4 separate regions of the Homo sapiens genome follow, and all the other regions are linked to region 1. The links are contacts of gene promoters, found by promoter capture Hi-C in blood cells and fetal thymus (Javierre and others, 2016). All regions are on one chromosome and are shown on one strand. Each heading gives the region's core, a stretch centred on a gene start or on the middle of the fragment in contact. The rest is flanking DNA. Distances are from core to core; before and after follow the strand shown.

The links. Contacts are between HindIII fragments. The CHiCAGO score rates a contact against its expected background, and 5 or more counts as called.
Region 2: a contact is called between a fragment that was not itself captured here and the fragment with the promoter of DANCR in region 1, in 1 of 17 cell types (activated CD4 T cells). The highest score is 5.7, in activated CD4 T cells.
Region 3: a contact is called between a fragment that was not itself captured here and the fragment with the promoter of DANCR in region 1, in 1 of 17 cell types (naive CD8 T cells). The highest score is 5.1, in naive CD8 T cells.
Region 4: a contact is called between a fragment that was not itself captured here and the fragment with the promoter of DANCR in region 1, in 2 of 17 cell types (activated CD4 T cells and non-activated CD4 T cells). The highest score is 6.5, in activated CD4 T cells.

Annotation. Positions count from the first base shown.
Region 1 is chr4:52,710,554-52,714,280 of GRCh38, reverse strand. DANCR (differentiation antagonizing non-protein coding RNA) reads right to left here and starts at 1,887. Exons shown (of 5, transcript NR_145129.1): 1 at 1,754-1,887; 2 at 1,322-1,457; 3 at 739-787; 4 at 43-82. MIR4449 (microRNA 4449) reads right to left here and starts at 1,599; the gene lies at 1,534-1,599. SNORA26 (small nucleolar RNA, H/ACA box 26) reads right to left here and starts at 1,032; the gene lies at 911-1,032. RefSeq lists an enhancer at 1,204-1,253 and silencers at 1,504-2,073, 1,248-2,081. The HindIII fragment of the contact is 6,853 bases long and covers 1-2,304 here.
Region 2 is chr4:54,104,460-54,108,186 of GRCh38, reverse strand. No RefSeq gene overlaps it. Among named protein-coding and RNA genes, the nearest start is that of GSX2, 6.2 kb to the right of the region's middle. RefSeq lists an enhancer at 3,426-3,727. The HindIII fragment of the contact is 4,357 bases long and covers 1-3,727 here.
Region 3 is chr4:54,080,895-54,084,621 of GRCh38, reverse strand. It overlaps a transcript of CHIC2 not described here. Among named protein-coding and RNA genes, the nearest start is that of GSX2, 17 kb to the left of the region's middle. The HindIII fragment of the contact is 6,758 bases long and covers 1-3,727 here.
Region 4 is chr4:54,046,633-54,050,359 of GRCh38, reverse strand. CHIC2 (cysteine rich hydrophobic domain 2) reads left to right here. Exons shown (of 6, transcript NM_012110.4): 2 at 1,055-1,109; 3 at 1,250-1,405. Among named protein-coding and RNA genes, the nearest start is that of CHIC2, 16 kb to the left of the region's middle. The HindIII fragment of the contact is 6,225 bases long and covers 1-3,727 here.

The DNA of each region.
Region 1 (3,727 bases), core at 638-3,137:
TAAAAGTTATACATGTGAAGCCTCTCATTCAGAGATACTCACAGGTGATGAAACTTGAGTTATCACTAATCCATTTCTTTACCTGTGAAATGGGAGAATAGAATCTGTAAGGTTAGCCGAGAGAAAAGACAAGAGACCCAAGGTCAGGCCAAGTAAGTTTATTAACCTGCCAGGCTTCTCCACCAGTCGGAGGTGGCAGCCCTGAGCTTACAAAATGAGGGGTTTATATGGGGGAGAGAGACCCTGGGGTTGTTAGTCAATTAACTTTACCACATATAATCTCATGACCGGCTTACAATATATTATCTTGTGAAAATAGGAATTTACAAGGGGGTGTAATCCACGTTTCTCATGACCTCCCCCGTGCCACCCAGAGGGCTTCGGTGTAGCAAGTCTGGTGACCTTGCTATAGCGCCTAGATAACGGTTCAGGAATGCAGCTGCAGAGTATTCAGGGTAAGGGTCAGCTGCATTGAGTTAGCGGGGGCGGAGTGGTCCTGGGGCAGCCTGTCCCTAACAGAATCCACCTCCGAGTTGTGACAATTAAATGAAAAGGTTGAAAAGGTGAACATGAAGCACCTGCTACACTGCCCTGTTGCCACCAGCATTGTCACTGCTCTAGCTCCTGTGGCACTGCACGGACACGTGGTTGCTACAAGTTAGTACGCATATTTGGCCTTATTAGAGGCACTTTCCTATTGTAACTGAAGGGATAGTTGGCTTAAGTCAATTGAAATACCAGCAACAGGACATTCCAGCTTCAATGGCTTGTGCCTGTAGTTGTCAACCTATAGAAAGAAAAGTTTTAAAATGACGTTTTAACCAAAGAAAACTGAAATGTATTGCTTGTTCTATAAACTGTAAAGAAAATCACAAAGGCGCTCAAGTTGTAACGAAACTTTTTCTGGTTCAGTTGTGACTCCAGACAGGATCCAAAGAGGAGCTTTCCAGTCTCTTCTCTGGGTTTTATGGAGACTTACTTTACCCTTCTGTGTTAGCCTCTTAAAGCACTGGGTCAACCTTAAAAGGGCACAGGAAAGGGTGCTTTGTGATTTTTTTTCTTTGATTTTTACAGGGTTCACTACTATTTTCCGCGTTGCTCTCAATACCTCGTGGATCTCTGCTTCTCTAAGTCTGAAACCACACTAGAAACACAGCTGTTTTGTTTGGTGAGCCCCTACATGGATGTTTCCTTCCAGTTAAGGGGAGCCGGATTCGGACCTTGGCGACAAACAGACGCCGGGGAACCCTCCGGTCCCACTGGCCACGTGCTCCAGGCTGACTCATTCCTTCCCCCACCCCGCTCAAGGCTAGGAACATACCTGCGCTAAGAACTGAGGCAGCTGCACTTCCGCAGACGTAAGAGACGAACTCCTGGAGCTCAAGGTCGGCTGGGGTTGGGTTCCTGTCCCGCACGCGTGGCCCGCCCGAAACCCGCTACATAGTGGCGCGTCAGCCCTGGGGAAGCAAAGCGCAAAATTGTTACGGTGCCCAGACCTGCGCCGGGAACCTCCGGCTGTTCCGCTGGGCGCGGCGCCTGTGCCTCGCGCAGCCCCGGGACGGGCACCGCCGCCCGCCCCCCGGGCCGCCGAGGGCTGCTCTACCCCTCCGTTCTGGCCGCCGGGAGCAGAGGAGCTCGAGGCGGGCAAAGCTCGTGGGGACACCGGGCGAGCCCAGCCCCTGATCGGACCCACGGGCCGGCCGGGCGCCCTCCCCGCGGGAGACCGAAAGCCGAAGACTGGAGATGCACTCACCGCGCAACTCCAGCTGACAAAGAGGCCTGCGACCTGCGACGGGCGCACAAACCAGAGAGGCGGCGCGGGGCGGGGAGGGAAGCAGGAGGGTCGCGAGGCCCGCAGCCAATCCCGGGAAGACTCTGGGCAAGGGCGGGGCGCGCAGCCGATCCCCTGGAGAGGTCGGGTAGCTCAGCCAATCCCGGGAAGATCCTGAGCGGGGCGGGGTGGAGGGCCGCGGCACGCACAGCCAATCCCGGATGGGGCGGGACGGGCCCGGCCATTGGCTGTCGGTGTCCGGGGCCGGCCTAGGTGTGGCTCATGCAGTAGCACGGGGATAAGCCATGTCTGCGCGCGGAGCATCCTTCTCTGAATTAGATTTTTCAGGCTACCTACCAATCCCCGGCGTTGGTGATTTTGGTGCTCTTGGGCCCTAGACCCTTCCTCGGGTGCCCTTCTGGAGAGGGCATCGAGGTTACTCCAGGGTTGGCCTAAGGCCCTGGGATTCCCTTTCTTAAAGCCACACTAATCCGGTGTGTGTTCATCATCTGTGTCCGCCTAAACCGTAAGCTTAAAGAGAAGCCACGACCATGTCTTGTTCAACAAGCTCACTCCCGTGGCCTCTCCTAAAGCTAGAAGGACTACCTCCTTTCCTCATGCTCCCTCTTTATTCATTTACAGAGTCCAATAAGTAGACCATAATCAGCTGGAGGGTAGGAGTTGGGGAGGTTGAGAAGGCAACCATAGCAATCTCAAGGTAACAGGCTCAAACTTGGCAAACAAATAAGTAGAAGAAAATTGGAGTATATGCTAAAAGGAGAACTTCTATTGCTGTTTCACGTACTTACCATCTGCTAACAAATCTAATCCTCAAAATATATTTAATCATCTCCAAATTATAGATGGGGAAATAATTATGTTATGTAACTTGCCCAAAGTCACAGAGCAGCTAGCCAGTGGTAGATCCAGGATTTGAACTCAAGCAGCCTGAAGGCAGAGCCCCTCAAACAACATGCTACCTAGCCTTTCCCCAGGTGTTGGGGGTGGAGCAGGAAGGGAAACCAAAAAATAGCCTACACTTGGTTAACAGATCAAGACAGGCAGCTCTGGTGGGGTGTGGCTTTGTAAACAGAAAGAACAACTCGTCCAGAGCCCCAAGATAAAACAGGAAAGGGCTTTACCTGTTTAAGGACTCCCAGAAATGGAACTTAAGGAGCAGAGTGGCCTGAGATGAGAATGGCTTGGGGCCAGACCATGCAGGAAACCCTGGAAGAGTTTTTTTGTTTTGTTTTGTTTTTGAGATGGAGTCTCGCTCTGTTGCCCAGACTGGAGTATAGTGGCACGATCTTGGCTCACTGCAGCCTCCACCTCCCAAGTTCAAACTATTCTCGTCTCGGCCTCCCGGGTAGTTGGGATTACAGGCATGCACCACCATGCCTGGTTAATTTTTGTATTTGTGAAAGAGTTTATACTTTGTGCTAAGAATGATGGAAAGCTGTTCAAGTGTTTTGTTTGTTTGTTGTGTGTGTGTGTGTGTGTTTTAACAGGGGAATGATAGGATCTGATGTAGGGTGTGGTTTCGGGTGTGATTAAGGTGGTTTTGGTGGGAAGAAGAAGTTGAGTAAAATTTACCAATAAACCCTAGCACCTAGTCATCATCTTGCAGATATTCATAGGATCTTGTTGAAATTGGAGAGTGAATACCAGTTTGTTGTCCCTTCACCTTTCTCAAGAGTCTTCCAAACATATCTCTAGTTGGAATCTGTTCTTTTTATAGTCCCTTTGGATAGCTGAGAGATATTACCTTTCCTTTAACTATGGCAATGCATGTGGTCAGGCAACATGGGAAAATATAGGAAAAGAGAAGTAAATCTCCTTAGTAAAGAGACTAATGCAGGAATTCAGCAGCAACCTAGCAGGGGCTGGGGGTAGTTGTGCAGAATGTCTTCCCTCCTCCCCAAATCAGGGGATAAAAATGGGAAGGAATTATGAAAG
Region 2 (3,727 bases), core at 655-3,154, 1.4 Mb before region 1:
GCCATGGCCAGGGGAGACTGGATGGGGAAAACGGCCAGGAGAACAAAGGGTGGGGGTGGGGGCGGATATCAAGGCAGAAGGAGATGGAGACAAGACAGAGAAATGCAGACAGAGAAAGATCACTGGGGAAGCAGATGCAAAGGCAAAAAAAAAAAAAAAAAAAAAAAAAGACAGAGTGACAGCAAACACACCTCTAAAGTCTCAACTCCCTTATCCCAAGTTAAAACTACATGTATGGCTTAAGCAACTCATCAGCCTCTAGCCAAAGGCATTTTGAAGCCTTGACATTCAAAATCCTAATAATTAATCATTCTTATTAATTAATTAAGGAGGAAAGGAGGAAGGTGGCTGGCTGCTGCTTGACCCCAAACAATCTAAATTAGGGTTTGTGAAGGAAGTCTCCAAAAGCATGCACTCCCTCTCCTTCGTATTCTTTCTTTTTCACACTCTCAAAAATTTCCATTATAATCCTTCAAGGTCTGGGGCAGGCAGAGCTTCTCACCCTGCTCCATCCCTTCGCAGCAAACTGAGACCAAGCTGGCTTCTGCTCCTTGGAGCCGGCTGCCACTCATAGGCAGGGAGCTCTTTCCCATCGGGAGCAACTCCCACCTGCCTTTTTTTCTCTGCACCTGCTGTGGGTGGTTTCTCCTTGAACTTCAGAAACCAAGTAGTTGCCTAGAATTACTTTCGCCACAGTGCTCACAGGCTAAATATTACTACATTCTCTCTCTCTCTCTCTCTCTCTCTCTCTCTCTCTCTCTCTCTCTCTTGTCTTCTCTCTCCTCTCTCCCCTTGCCTCCCTCTCACTAGAGACTTGAGTCCCCTATTTGAAATGGTGCAGCTAATACAAAGTCATCAAAGCACTATGGTTCTTGTCTTAAAGTGACAGCCTGCTTTATGAGACTGTTTGAAATACTCCCCTTGCTTTTCAATGTCTCTCTATCCATCTTTGTCTGCTCTTCAGAAAAGGGGACAATATAAAGCCCAGCCTGGCGAGCTCCCCACGCTCAGGCCTGGGCAGTGCCAACCTCCGCCTTTAAGCAGATTGAAATTGTCACTGCTTCATTAATCTGAAACTAGTTACTTTCCTAAGCACACAGCATACACTTCCGATCTGTTAGGATTCACTCAGGGGAGCCCCTGGGGCCTTCCTGGGTTTGGGATTTAGAAGGCTCAACAAAGATACAGCAAGGGTTCAGGAAAACATAGGGCTCAGCTTGAAGAAAAGCAGTGTCCAGTACCGAAGGGCGGCATTGACATCAGTATATTAAGAGAGCACAAAACACTATTTTCAGAGACAATGGGATGCCCAGGATTTTGGAGGGTACACTTGAGAATAAGTAGTCTGGCTATGGCAACAGACAAGGTTATCTATTGCCACATGGAGCAGCACTAGAGGTCTCACAGGCCTCAGAATTTTTTTCCCCAAACAGAAGAAACTGGAATCCAAATTTCTTTGCAAGTTGGAGTTTTGCTGACTTTCTTTTTTTTTAGTTTTTTTTTTTTTTTAATCTGAGTTCTGATTCAAGTCTGATTCTAAGAGATGTCTTAAGTTCTGTGCTTCTTTGGCCCCTCCCTTAGTTCCAGCCTGTGTTGCCCACTCCAAGTGCCAGATGTTGGATGTAGAAGCCTCGGGTCCTTATAGAATTTCTATGAGACAAGTTGCCCCTTTTCTTCATACCCCCACCATTAACAAAAGACAATACAAAGGATTCTATTACTTTTAATATTTCTAGCTGGCTTAGAATAGCAAGTTTTTGGGTTCTATTCTATGTAGTTTAGGGAAGAGATGTGGGCATTTTTTAAGAGAAGCTCAATTTTCAGTAATGTGAGCCTAAAGATTTATAAAATAGATTTATATTAAATTATGTTAATAGACGCCTAGTAAATGCACCATTTAATTGCATGGAAAAAAATGTTCCCTTTTAAAAGGTCTGTCACCTTAACAGGTACATTCAAAGATTTCCTGTGAATAATGAAAATAGGAACAATTGCTTTGATGCACTGAACTGCATTCATCGTCTAGGACAGCTTTGGGCTGTGTTTGGAGAAGATGGGAGGAGCTCTTTTGAAAGGAGTGATTGCTCCTTTAAACTTGATTTCCTCTAGCAAATAGGTTCTATTGGAGTGTCATTCTCCTCCCCTCTCTCACACCCGTAAGGCTGGGCTTGAGATCATGCCCCAGAGCTCTTCTCCATGTCTCCCCTCCATGTTCAGACTGTTTTTCCTCCCCACAACCCAACACTGAGCACCTCCCCATCTCCCTCAAAGAAATCTCTCAAGGAGTGCCATTAAAAGCGAGTGGAACCTGCAGGAAAGGTATAAGTGGGAAACAAAAAGAAAAAGAAAACCTGGTTAAAAATTACTCTTTTCCACCTACATCACCACCATCAAAGGACCCTCTCTGTCTCTTTCACACACACATGTGCCTCATGCATGCACACACTACACACATGTACATACAAAGCCCCTGTTGCCCTCTGTGACTGCTTTTAGTTAGAACCACCACCTTTCTGGCAATTGTCTGACCACAGTTAGAGTGTGCCAAGCAAACTGCATTTCTAATCCTGACCAGATATAACTGGACAGAACTGGTGGGGCGTTGTGGGTTAGCGGGGTGGTGGTTGGCAATGAGGAGACGGAGGCGGAGGTCAGAAATCAAAGACTTCACATCCCCAAGTGTTTTGTCTCTCCTAAAATTATTAGATATTCTTTAGGGGAGTGGGGAAGGGACTGAGCTATGATGACCACTTCAGAATAAGGACCCTAGAGGAAAAGAGGTCTATGGGCACCAGTGTCTCCATCATGCAGGCCCACTGACACCCTAAGGATGGGCTACTGGGTCACTTTTGCTTTTGGCCTAGTTTGCTATCAGTATCAGGCCCTTGGCCTTAGGCATTTGTTGGTGGCTGAGTGGGAGAGTGAAGGGGAAAAGTCTCTGTTCCTCCTCTATGCTCTGAATGTCTGGGCTGGGCCAGGGCACATGGGTGAGAGGTCATCCTTCCTGCTCTCCACTCTGCCTTCCACCCCCAGCTCTTTTCCTGTTTAAAACTAACATGAGACTTGTTCTCAAAAAGATGGACTCAACCACACTCACAGCGGGTGCTACCCACTGATTTTCTCTTGGTGGAGCAAGTTCCTGTTTTCTAATTCTCATTCTCATTTTCATTCTCTTTCTTTCCATTCTTTCTTTCTTTCCATGACCTCTCTAAGAGGTCATGCTCTGGGGGAACATAGTTCTGTTTCTGTTTTTCAATTGGGGCATAATGGAAACTAGTATCTAGTGCTTCCCAGGTAGAGAAATTGTCAAGGGTGACCCCATACATCTTAAACTTTCCTCTTAAATGGGTGTTTGATATCAAGATTATTTAGCTGAGAATGTGAGTTTCTGAGGGTTGGCTTAAATGCTCTTAAACTAAAGTGAAACTGTTGGTCTTTAGAATCAGACCGACTCCAAAATACCAAAGCATTATTCCGATTTGAAAACTTCAAAAACATCAACTGATATTTTTTGAGGAGTGGGGATAGGGAAACATGTAAAACTTATTCTAGCATAGTAGGAGACCTCATACTCCATTCTGAAAGTGACCAAAGGAGTCCACTTTGCATCGGATGTCCTAGAAGGAAGACCTCCCTGGGAACCCTGGAGAACCTTTTCTTCTATGGAGAGTGTCCCAACATCTAAATAGGTATCGCTACGCTTTTTTTTTTTTTTTTTTTTTTTTTT
Region 3 (3,727 bases), core at 557-3,056, 1.4 Mb before region 1:
CACTATTCTGGGTGCTCTAAAGCATCAGTGACAATAATTATGAATGTAGAAGGTGCATTGGTAGCCAAAGTTAACTATGTCATTGCTGTCCTTGAGAGGGGTTTTTACCTGTGTTTTCTTTTTTTTTTGTAATTTTTCTGAGATCAGACAAGTTAGTTAGATTCCAAACAATATGGGCCTAATATAATCACAATTCCATTTAAATTGGCCAAAGAATGACCCTTATCCAGACAGGACTCTTAGTGTACTTAGCTGTCAACAAAATATAAAACTTATCAGAATAATGGCTACTTTTAAATATAAGGCCTGCATCATATTGTTAGAGGAACTTCTGGAAATAGGAGACAGTTGCTATTAAAATTCAATTTAGTTTAATTCACCATTATTTACTGAGTGCCTACATATGTTAGGTACTAGGGCTACAAAGATGACTAGACCCCGGGCTGGGCACAGTGGCTCACCTAACCATAGCCATCAATGAATTCAAGTAAGTGTGTGATAGTGGCATGCAACAACTGTGGAACCATGGAGGAGAGATCTGTTCTTTCTTCCTGCTGGCATCATGGACTCTGAGACTGAGGCTTGAACTATTTCTAGGAGATGCTCAGAGTAAAAACAACAGCAGGAGAAGAGACTTCTAGGCCAAAGTTTCAAGAGTGAGCACAGGCCCAGAGGATGGATATGCATTAAGCTGCATGCAGGAGACAGAAGCAGGAAGGGCTGCTTAGTGGCAGAAAGCAAAGAGTGTGAGTGGCAGGTGAAGAAGTATGAAGGCCTCTGTAGTAAGATGAATGGTCTTTGAAGGATGCTAAGCAGAAAATTGAAATGATTATATTGTAATCATTGTAAAGGATGGGATTGGAAGAGAGAGAAACCAGAGACAGTTAGTGTCCAGTACCAAAGTCCAGACTTGAAATGATAAGTGTCACATTAATCAGTAGTGGTGGGAATGGAGAGGAGAGAATAAATTCAAGAGTAATTTGGAAGGTAGCACCAATGAGCCTTGGTTACTAATTAGATAGGACAGGGGTACAGAAAGACAAATGGGTCAGTGGGGACTTGGGTTTCTAGCTCAGGTGTCTGTATTGAATATGATTGTGTTAACAAATATAGTGGTTACAGATGAAAGATAAGCAGTTTTTTGTTGTTTCAGATGAGACTGTAGATAGAGTGAATGGAACAGAAAAAAGATAAATTGGTTGTAAACATTTTGAGTTTTAAGTGCTATAAGAATAGCCAAGAGGAAATTTTTGATGTAGAGTAGCAGTTGGAAATATGGATCTGAATTTAACAGAAATTGAGATTGGAGTTGGGCGTGGTGGCTCATGCCTGTAATCCCAGCACTTTGGGAGGCTGAGGTGGGTGGATCACCTGAGGTCAGGAGTTCGAGACCAGCCTGACCAACATAGTGAAACCCCGTCTCTACTAAAAATACAAAATTAGCTGGGTGAGGTGGCACATCCCTGTAATCCCAGCTACTTGGCTGGCTGAGGCAGGAGAATCGCTTAAACCCGGGAGGCAGAGGTTGCAGTGAGCCGAGATCACTCCAGCCTGGGCAATAGAGCAAGACTCAGTCTCAAAAAAAAAAAAAAAAAAAAAAAAAGAAAGAAAGAAAAAAGAAAGTGAGAGTAGAAATAAAAATGGCATCAGCCTATATTATTTAAAGCATATATAATATTTGAAGCAATATGATGAGATGAAATTACCCAGGGTTGGTGTCATGGTTAGGATGGTGGTCAGGAAAGTCATTGTTTTGGTGTAGTACTTAGAGTAGTTTGAATATATTATGTGATATATTTGTTGGATGCTGAGTCTCTTCTACAGTCTCACTTCCCTCCTCTAAGGACTTGTATAATCTTTTGGTGAGTCTATCTAGGGATAATCCAGTACTTACTATTTGACAGTGGAACTGGAATACACCTGGGAAACCAAATTAAGGTTGTAAGACAGGTTGGTGTAAATATGGGATTGGATTTAGAAACGACTGGTATGAATATGAGATTAGAGTTACAAATAGCCCTGACCACCAGATGACTTGAAAAGGTGGCTGAGTACTCTTTCCTCATCCCTCTCATCTAATAGAAATAGAGTGGAGTAGGGAAATCCTGATGGAGGGTTCAGACACCCTGCCTTCTTTTCTTTCCAAAAGACTTTCTTTTCCATGTAGACCGTAGATGTTTTCTGACTGAGTCAACTTTATATCCACAAGGTCTGTTGACATTTAACATGCCAAAGATCCATACAGTGGAGCAGCCAGATGTTTAGGGCCTGGTCCTGGCTTATTGCCATGAGCATTGCTCAGATTCCCAGTCTGAGTCAGAATCCTGAGTGACAGATCACAGGATGTTTGTGTTTCCTGAAGGACTTAAAGGGCTTGCAAAATGTTCTGTCTTATCCACCTCCAGAGAGAAGATTGCTCATTTTTGAGATCCATGTAGATGGAAAAAGAAAGGAAAAATGGTATATCAATGCACAAAATCATATACAGTATCACCATTCATCATCAGCTATCACTCTTGATTTTCCATCAGTCACTTCCTTACCTATCTAATGCCCTCATCCCATTATGTTCGGGATCAACCTTTTTGCTTCGACCAGGCTAGCCTGTTTGTGGTCCATGGCACACATAGTTATCTTACCATATGTGGGGTTTCCCATTGACACCTTTCTCCACCTCTATCATCTATTTTTCATCTTTAAATTGCTATTCAAAACTATGGCTTCTCCACAAAACATTTGCTTCCCAATGGTAAAAACTTAGGCTGGGTGCTATGGCTCACACCTATAATCCCAGCACTTTGGGAGGGCAAGGCAGGAGGCTCACTTAAGACCAGGAGTTCGAGACCATCTTGGGCAACATAGTGAGACCTCATCTCTAAAAACAACAACAACAACAACAACAGCAACAAGCAACCCAAAACAAGCACATCAAATCATCCCAAATTCACCAGTGGTTTCCTATATGGCAATTAAAGTTTTATCTCCCCATAGAAATTATACCAGAGGTAAAATTTATACTCATTTGGGCATAAAGTACTTATTTATACATGTCTAGGGCAGATTCCTGATCTTTCCATAGCAGTATGTTACAGAGTAGCCCTCACTTAGAGAGGTAGATAAGTAGAATAGAATATTTGACTACATCAAATTGAAGTATCTTAGATGATGAGAATAATAGCGATAATAAGTATCATTCATCAAGTGTCTGCCATGCCAGACACTCTACTAAGCATTTTGTAATGTTATTACATTTAACTATCACAATAAAGATTAAGAAGGGTATCATGCCCATCTTATAGACTAGAAAACAAAGATTCAAAGAAGTAATTTGAAGCCAGGCACAGTGGTGTGTGCCTGTAGTCCTAGCTACTTGGGAGGCTAAGGCAGGAGGATCCCTTCAGCTCAGGAGTTCAAGGCCAGCCTGGGTAACATAGTGAGACCCTGTCTCTGAAAAAAGAAAAGAAACAAATAAAGGACTAATTTGCCCAAGGTCTTAATTTATAGGCAGTGGAATCTGGATTCAGACCTAAGTCTTTTTTTTCCCCAGCTTTTTGAGATATTAATCAAATAAAATTTGTATATATTTAATTGACAAATAAAAATTGTATATATTTAAGGTATATGTGTGATGATTTTATATATATATATATATATATATATATATATATATATATATATACACACACACATTGTGAAATGATTACCACAATCAAGCTAATTAGCACAT
Region 4 (3,727 bases), core at 560-3,059, 1.3 Mb before region 1:
GAGATAGTGAAATGGATGTATGTGGGATATGAGTAAAACAAGCCTGTTTCAAGATTCCATTTAGATTTAGGTGTAAAGTTGGAGTCCCCCCTTCAAAACTTTACAGTGTATTACATGAACTTTCAAAATTATCTCAAATTATATAAAAGTAAAATTGGTCTCGTGTGTGATTTCTTAAGGAAACAAAGGAAGCTGTAAAAGCCATAAAAGCCTGCACTGAAGTGTTGCATGGAATGTGCTCAGTAGTTGTGATTTGAATGAATTCTCTGTTCTCCAAGTACTGGTAGACTTCTGATAGATAAAAGCAAGATAGGTTGTTTTTATTATGTCTTTTATCTTCTTGTTATATTTACCATTCTTTGAAAATAGTTTAAATCTTTTATCAATTCTAAAGCCATGGAATATTTTAACCATGATTCAAGAAAAGGTCTTTTAGGTAATAGGAATAGATATAGGTATAGTACACGTCTACATTTTCTTTCATACCATCTAATGCACTGACAAATAGGTGTTCAATGGAACCTAAGACGGTTCTTGGTAGCACTTTGTCCATTCCTACTTTTTTATTTTTTCTCTCCCTTTTTCCTTATTCTTCCCCTCCTCACTCTTTTTCCTGCATTTTTCCTTCTCATCTTATTGCTTGTGTAGGACACCTGCTAAAATTCACAGGTATTGTTTGTTTCCACCAATAACATTAAAAGCTGGAAAAAATCGCTATCCCACCCATTAAAATAATATGCTTTGTAGTTACTTTTTAAGATATAAAGTTGGTAGCTCAAATTAAATGAACCATTTATATTTTTGTTTACATACTGCTGGTTAATTAACATTCAGCCCCTTATCATTATGCAAAAGTTTCCATTTAACTGCTAAAATAATTGTTACATTTCATAAATTGCTTGTTACAGTTATTTTATCTCAAACTTCCATTTTATGTCTAAAACTTCCTCCATATGTGAAAATGCTTTCTATTGACTTGACCTTTAAATTAAATGGTCTACATTTTTGGCAACAATAACATGTAATAACATATTCTTCTTATTTTTTAAAATAGATTTGGACTGAGCAACAAATTTGAATCTGAATTCCCTTCTTCATTAACTGGAAAAGTGAGTGTCTCATTTATGTACTATTTGTATGCCTCAAAATGAAAGTTTTTTTCTGAGAAAATTAGAAAAAAGTATGCTCATCAGTCATGTTTTTTGACATTAATATTGCATTGTTATTATTTCTTAAAATTTTTCTTTAGGTAGCTCCTGAAGAATTTAAAGCCAGCATCAACAGAGTTAACAGTTGTCTTAAGAAGAACCTTCCTGTTAATGTACGTTGGCTACTTTGTGGCTGCCTTTGTTGCTGCTGCACATTAGGTTGCAGTATGTGGCCAGTTATTTGCCTCAGTAAAAGAGTAAGTTGAATTATATATTTTAATTTAAATTTAGAAGTGGACAAGCAAGTCTTGCATTTATCTAGTTTTTATTTTTTGTATTGAATGAATCACACTATCCTGAATAAAATATGAAAATAATCTGATCCAGGAGAGGAGTGAGTCAGTAAAGTTACTATATATCCAAGTGCTGTTATTAAATAGCCATCTAAAAATTATATTTATAATTTTAGAAGCAAGGAGTAGTGTATGGCATTGTCTGTATCTGTACATTGACAGTGGTGTGGTATAGTGATCAAGGATGCTGGCTTCAGCTCTACCACTTTTCTCTGTGACCTTAGGCACGTTTCCTAACCTCTTTAAACCCTACTTGACACAACTGTAAAATGTTCACCTACTACTTGAATATAAAGGTAAAATGAAAATGTTTGGAAAACTCTTAGCTGAATATCTCAAAGGAAGTGGTTAATAAGTATTAATTAATAGTATTCTTACTGACTGTAAGATGGTACCCATACAAGAAATAAAATGGTTACAATGGTTGTTTCTTGTTGGTAAGATTATGGGACATTCTTTTCTGCTTTTTATATTTTACAAGTTTCCTGTAGTGAGCACAAAGTGATTCTGTAATCAGAAAAAATAATTTCAAAGACTCATTATTTTGACTGCTTATAATAAAAAATTCTGGCCAGGCACAGTGGCTCATGCCTGCAATTTTAACACTTTGGGAGGCCAAGGCGGGCGGATCACTTGAGGTCAGAAGTTCAAGACCAGTCTGGCGTACATGGTAAAACCCTGTCTCTACTAAAAATACAAAAAATTAGCCAGGCGTGGTGGCGGGTGCCTGTAATCCCAGTTAGTCAGGAGGCTGAGGCAGGAGAATCGCTTGAACCTGGAGGGCGAAGGTTGCAGTGAGCTGAGATCGTGCCATTGCACTCCAGCCTGGGCAACAATAGTGAAACTCTGTCTCAACAAACAAATAAACAAAATTTTAAGATGTTGGTAGAGATATGACAAATTATTATAGATTGAATGTATTATATTCTTGTTAAAATTTTCAAAAATTGTATTTATATGTATAAAAATGATACTTTAAAAAAATTTTTTTAAATAAATAAATTTTATTTTTTAAAAATGTATTTAAAAAAATAGAGACAGGGTTTCTTTTTTTTAATTATTATACGTTAAATTCTAGGGTACATGTGCACAACGTGCAGGTTAGTTACATATGTATACATGTGCCATGTTGGTGTGCTGCACCCATTAACTCGTCATTTAACATTAGGTATATCTCCTAATGCTATCCCTCCCCCCTCCCCCCACCCCACAACAGTCCCCGGTGTGTGGTGTTCCCCTTCCTGTGTCCATGTGTTCTCATTGTTCAATTCCCACCTATGAGTGAGAATATGCGGTGTTTGGTTTTTTGTCCTTGCGATAGTTTGCTGAGAATGATGGTTTCCAGCTTCATCCATGTCCTTACAAAGGACATGAACTCATCCTTTTTTATGGCTGCATAGTATTCCATGGTGTATATGTGCCACATTTTCTTAATCCAGTCTACCATTGTTGGACATTTGGGTTGGTTCCAAGTCTTTGCTATTGTGAATAGTGCTGCAATAACCATACGTGTGCATGTGTCTTTATAGCAGCATGATTTATAATCCTTTGGGTATATACCCAGTAATGGGATTGCTGGGTCAAATGGTATTTCAAGTTCTAGATCCCTGAGGAATCGCCACACTGACTTCCACAATGGTTGAACTGGTTTATAGTCCCACCAACAGTGTAAAAGTGTTCCTATTTCTCCACATCCTCTCCAGCACCTGTTGTTTCCTGACTTTTTAATGATCGCCATTCTAACTGGTGTGAGATGGTATCTCTTTGTGGTTTTGATTTGCATTTCTCTGATGGCCAGTGATGATGAGCATTTTTTCATGTGTTTTTTGGCTGCATAAATGTCTTCTTTTGAGAAGTGTCTGTTCATATCCTTTGCCCACTTTTTGATGGGGTTGTTTGCTTTTTCTTGTAAATGTGTTTGAGTTCATTGTAGATTCTGGATATTAGCCCTTTGTCAGATGAGCAGGTTGCAAAAATTTTCTCCCATTCTGTAGGTTGCCTGTTCACTCTGATGGTAGTTTCTTTTGCTGTGCAGAAGCTCTTTAGTTTAATTAGATCCCATTTGTCAGTTTTGACTTTTGTTGCCATTGCTTTTGGTGTTTTAGACATGAAGTCCTTGCCCATGCCTATGTCCTGAATGGTAATGCCTAGGTTTTCTTCTAGGGTTTTTATGGTTTTAGGTCTAACATGTAAGTCTTTAATCCATCTTGAATCAATTTTTGTATA